Regions from separate parts of the Homo sapiens genome. Here region 1 is linked to region 2. The links are contacts of gene promoters, found by promoter capture Hi-C in human tissues and cell types (Jung and others, 2019). All regions are on one chromosome and are shown on one strand. Each heading gives the region's core, a stretch centred on a gene start or on the middle of the fragment in contact. The rest is flanking DNA. Distances are from core to core; before and after follow the strand shown. Region 1 overlaps OTOGL (otogelin like). Region 2 holds the start of PAWR (pro-apoptotic WT1 regulator).

Region 1 (2,863 bases), core at 101-2,600, 600 kb after region 2:
ACAACCTGATTTTAATTATTTTTGAAATTATTTCTCTTCTTCTGCATAGTCAAATTTAAGTTACATTCAGAAAAAAGAAAGTTTTGCTGACAATATAATGTCAAACATGACATGTTCCCATTGGATATATCATTACTGTTAAAGATGTTTGTTTATGGTATCATTTTAAGTAGTAACACAAAGATTCTGTGAAGCTTTATTTTTCATTTTGTATATGGAAAAAATATTTGCACATTTCTACCAAAAGCATTAAAAATCTTGTTCATGTTTCAGCATCTCTACAAATATTTTCCAATGTATGGTGGTGATCTTTGTTCACATTATTATTTCATTCATTTAATAAAACAATTTTAGGGGCCTATTAAATGTAAAGCATGCCAGTAAAGACATATCTACTATTTATACTCCATATTAAGACAGATTTCTCTAAGAAAATTCTAAGGTTTTGATGGTGGGGACAATGCCTTATATTTCTTGTTATTCTTTCTAAGTCATTTTGCAGAATGCTGGGCATTTGGTGAACTCAATAACTACTTGTTAGTATTTTCTCCTGTTACTCTCATTTTCTTTTTTTAGTAGAGAAAATGTAGCATTTATCATTGTCATTTCAAATACTGATTGTGCAGAAAATATTTCAAGTAGAGTATTTGTCTTAACTCTGAGTCCTGGCAAGAGGAAACTATAATCTTGTGTTTATGTTTAATTGTAGAGAAATAATATCAACTAATAAATAATGGACAAGGCCAGAAACTAATAAAAGACGTACCATAGTTTCTTTTCAAATGATATTTTTCTCTCTCTCAGTTCCTCATTTCTATGAAAGACAAATCATAACAGGACCAATGTACTTGCAAAATAAGTTTTAATCGTAGTATATTTGGCTTGATTATTTGCATAAAATGCAGCAAGAATAATTATTGTTCATATAGGCTCTTTTACGTTGGCTTTGTTGTAACTTTTTCATAATCTCAGATTAGACCTTTTAAAAGCCTCTTGAGGTTAGCCAGCTAAGGATTTATATGTGCCTGCAAATACCTATATGAATTGGGTTAATTTCTCTCTTCTTGAGGTTCTAAAATAACTTGGGGTTCCTAAGCCTGTCAGAAAGTGATGTGCTTTACTTACTACAGGTCACAAACATTGTAAAGGAATTGCATAAACAAGGTGTCAGGCCAGTCTGTACGAGAGGCTTTGGTCAGCTCTATAATGTCAACTTAAATTCCCCAAAGCAGTCCAGTCATATCTGTAAATATTCCATCCTAGTCAAAGCTGTGGTAAAATAACCAGCGTCTCCAACTGTTTCCTGTTACAACAGAAAATAGATTCTTATTGAACTTATGCAAATAGCTATATTGCCATAATTTAAGAATACTCACAAATGATTTTTAAATTCTGGAGAAATCAGATAGAAAGAAATATGCCTCAAATTTTGCTCACAAGAGCATACTTTACTCAATTTGTTGTAAGCTATAAATAGCTCAAAAGAAAGAAATATTTTCTTTTCTTTTTTTTCTTTTTCTTTTCTTTTCTTTTTCTTTTTTTGTTTTTTTGAGATGGAGTTTCACTCTTATTGCCCAGGCTGGAGTGCAGTGGTGCAATCTTGGCTCACCACAACCTCCACCTTCTAGGTTCAAGCAATTATCCTGCTTCAACCTCCCAAGTAGCTGGGATTACAGGCATGCGCCACCACACCTGGCTAATTTTGTATTTTTAGTAGAGACGGGGTTTCTCCATGTTGGTCAGGCTGGTCTTGAATTCCTGACCTCAGGAGATCAGCCTGCCTCGGCCTCCCAAATTGCTGAGATTACAGGCATGAGCCACTACGCCCAGCAGAAATGTTTTCTTGACTTTAGAAAACAAAACGTAAAGAAGCCCAATGTTTCAAACAAACAAGTCATAAGAAAACATTTCAGCCTTCTGTTAGTTCAGTCCCATGCAGTTAACTCTTGTTCTGCCCAGTATTGGGCCAGCAATCCTCATGAACACATCTGCCCTCCAGTGAGAATCCCAGAAGTTTTCTCTCTAGTCTGATGGCACAATCTCCAAAGTAATCAGAAACCTGCCTTCAAGAGCACCTGTCAGAGTCCTTTCCACAAACTTCCTTAAGGAAGCAAGTTGTGGACTGCAGCTGATTATAAAGTGCTTTTTGAGAAGAATAAAAGTAAAACAATAATTGTCTGTGCATGACAAAAGTCTTAGACTAGCCACGGTTAAAGACACAATAGACAAGGAAATTTGATTATTTCTGTGGCATACAATAATTTAATGTAATAGTCATAATTATTCCTGATAACATAGATTAAGACATACCAGAACTATATGAATCTTATATAATTTTGGAACATATATTAATGACACATTCATATAAAAATAACTCAAAGAAAGTTAAACACCATTTCATATTTGACAATGATTCTGGTGTAATTTTAACATACCAACGAAGATGAATATGTCTGTCTCGGACTTCAGGAGCCCTAATACCCAAAAAGTTAGTTTGAGGCCAAAAGACTGAATTTAGAATTTGGAAAGGTTATCAAATATCAAAGGCTTAAAACACTTGATATTGCAAAATAAGAGTCACAGGTAACTGCAAAATTAGTCATTTAATCAAAGTGATAATTCAAATATTTTAAAAAGCTAAAACCTTTACTCTTTGGTAGACAGGAGACTCAGTTTCCCAAATAATCTTAAAACTTAATAAAGATAGCTAAAAAGGTAAATTTAATCTGTCTCTCTCTTCCCTTTTTTTCTTGCCGTATACTCAAAAGGTAAATAAAAATCTTTTACTATCTCTTAATATTACACAAAAAGCTTGTTCAAAAGAGAAAACCAAATTTTACCTTTGCATTGTGCATTATTAACA
Region 2 (2,757 bases), core at 47-2,546:
AGACACCGGGAGGCAGCTGCCCGCCCCGGCCCGGTCCGGCTGCGGCCCCCGCCCGGCTCACCTCTGCGGCAGGGATGTTGACCACGCCGGTGGAGCGCCGCTTCTCCCGCAGCTTCCTCTTCTCGATCTGCCCCTTGCCTTTCCTGGCACTGGGGCCCGAGCTCTTGCCCTTCTCTGGGACGCCGTCCGGCTCCTCCTCGTCACGCTGGGGCGGCGGTGCAGCCGAGGCAGAGGCGGCTGGGGGCTCGTCCTCCGACCGCCGCGGGCCGGGGGCCGCCCGCGTCAGCATGGCGGAGCCGACCGCGCAGTTCACGCCCCCGGGACCGGGGACGGCAGGTGCGGCCGGCGCGCCGCCCGGGAGGTTGTTGTTGAGCTCGTTGGCAGCGGCGGCCGCCGGGGTGCCCAGAGCCCCCGCGGGGGGCTTCCCAGCGGCGTCGCTGCTGCCCCCTCCCGGGGGGGCCGGGCCCGGGGGGTTCTGCTTGGCGCGCATCTTCTCGCGTTTCGCCTTCCACTCCTCCAGGAAGTCTGTGGTGCTGCCGCCGAGGCCGCTGCTGGTCCGGTAGCCACCGGTCGCCATATTCCCAAAGGGGCCGGTCGGGCTCTCACCTCAGGCCGCCCACCAGGGCTCCGGCCGCTGCCTCCTCTTCCTTCCTGCGGCCCCGAGGATGCCAGGAGACGACCTCCAGGAGAGGGACGGCCGCCGCTCCCACAGCAGCCGGCGGGGCTGAGGTGAAAGACAAAAGGGGGCGGGTAAGGGAAGCGTAAGATCCCCGCCCGACCCAAGGGTCTGCCCCCGGGCTGCGCCCCTTGGAGTCCTCGAGCGCGCCCACCAGTCACTACCGGCCAGCAGCCGCCGGGTCCCCACCCTGCAAAGTTTCTCCCACGCACCTACAGTACGGACCCCGACGATCGCCGCCCCTAGAAGGGAGGAGAGAGGACTGACCCCACCCCCAAGTCGGCCCGCCCGCCCCATCCCCACCAAGGTCCGCGCCGGCGGCGGTCGAGATACTAGGGCTAGACCCGCCACCTGTCGGCTCGTCGTATCGCCTGCTCCGCGCTCTAGCCACCGCCGGTCCGAGGTCCCCGTCAGCTACAACCCCACTCCCAAGGCGAGGCGCGGAGCTCCTAGCCGGTTCGCAGAGGAGGCGGGGACCCAGCTGTCCCGCCGAGCGTGGAAAGGACCGGGTGTGAGCGAGCGCCTTACCTTGGAGGAGCTTGTAGGGGACGAGGCGTAGGGCTGGGATCCGGCTCCCAGGTGTGCCGAAGCTGGCGCGCGCTCTTCCGCCGCGCGGAAAGTGCCGCGGCAAACTCGCGGTGCGGAGCTCCAGGCAATCCCAGGACAGGAGGGAGGGAGAAGAAGGAGGGAGGGAGGGAGGGAGGGAGCCAGGGGCGGGAAGGGAGCCGAGCGGCGCCGAAGCACGAGCGGAAAAGGCCGAGGCGGCGCGCGAGGGGCGCGGCGCGCGGTGGGAAGGGTCGTGGCCGCTGACGCCCCGCCCCCGGCGCTCAGGTGCGCGGCGTCGCGTCCGGCCCGCCGCTGCAGCCTGCCCTGCGCCAGCCGTCCTCTGCCCCGCTCCCGCCGCAGACCACAGCGCGCCCGCCGCGCTCCGCCCGCGGCCTGCGAGTTAGACGGCACATTCCTGGGCTAGCAGCTTCGCGGCGTCCGGCCTCCCGGCGCCTCCGACTCCGGGGCGGGAACGGCACTCCACGCCCTTCTTGCTTGTCTTCTCCGCCTCTCTCTTCTCCCACCACTCTTCCTTTTAAGTACAAGACCGTATTATTTGAGAGAAAGTCTCGAACGCTGCTGGCTAAGGGGAAAAGTGCGATAACTTGTGATGATTCAGGGAATGACTAGACAGGATGGGAAAATACCCACGTGTCTCTTTTCCTAGTCGCTGCTCCCTTTTCAGATGTACTAGGGCAGCGGGCAGGAGAATAGAAAGACCTGAGACAAACCCAGCACCCTCCTTCTAAGAAAACTGCGGTGCCCTGGTGAAAAGGGTTGGCTAAGAGGAAGGACTTACTAGTATCTTAGGGTTGCGGGAGAAAAAACTCAGTTCGACAGTTTATTGTATTGGCGATTCCAGTCTTGGAGTTTTCCCCTTAACCCTGTCTCTGCCTCTCCTCTTTACAGAGAATGAATTTAGCAGCAAAGCTCCCTACCAAAGTACTAACGCTGCACTGATGCTAATTTGAGATGAGCTGGGGCAGTGATTGTCTCTATTTTTTCATTATTAACATGCCAGAGGCTTATCCTCTGATGCAAGTCATCTGAAATTTCTGGATCAGAGCGGGGTGGGCTGTCACTGACGCACCTAAGACTGACCTTTCTATATCCAAGTAATGTCAGGGCACATCATTGTGGGAGGCTACAAATGCCAGGTCTCCATTTTGTAAAAAAGTAGGAGAGCCCTAAGTCACGCTCTTACCTAACATAAACCTTTCTTCCTACTTAATATTCCTGTTTTGCCCAGGTAGCACATGATGAGTGAGCAATCAGTGTTTGCCTGCCACAGAACTGGGAACAGAAGAAAGTGATTCACATGCTCTATATTTCTCAGGGAAAGACAGTTTTGGTCTTTGGTCTGGCTGTTGTGGGAAACGTATGGCGAGAGCTCTGGAAAAATCCTTAGAAAATTAAAAGCTTTTGTTGGGAATAGGTCTAAAAGGCTGAGCGGCTGTTTACCTAAGCTAGTACCAACCCCAGTGTGCCACCTGAAGTTTCTCAATTACATATTCATTAGTTTGTTTTCTGAGTTT

The links. Contacts are between HindIII fragments. The study calls those that stand out against the background at their distance.
Region 1: a fragment that was not itself captured here is called in contact with the fragment with the promoter of PAWR in region 2 in 1 of the 25 tissues and cell types used here (H1 embryonic stem cells).

The regions. Positions count from the first base shown.
Region 1 is chr12:80,290,456-80,293,318 of GRCh38, forward strand. All of the region lies in intron 26 of OTOGL (otogelin like), which reads left to right. Among named protein-coding and RNA genes, the nearest start is that of PTPRQ, 150 kb to the right of the region's middle. The HindIII fragment of the contact is 3,694 bases long and covers 1-2,863 here.
Region 2 is chr12:79,689,668-79,692,424 of GRCh38, forward strand. PAWR (pro-apoptotic WT1 regulator) reads right to left here and starts at 1,297. Exons shown (of 7, transcript NM_002583.4): 1 at 1,205-1,297; 2 at 62-724. The coding sequence starts at 577. It overlaps PPP1R12A-AS2 (PPP1R12A antisense RNA 2), which reads left to right and starts at 365. Exons shown (of 7, transcript NR_187531.1): 1 at 365-729. RefSeq lists silencers at 5-524, 1,295-1,594. The HindIII fragment of the contact is 10,737 bases long and covers 1-2,757 here.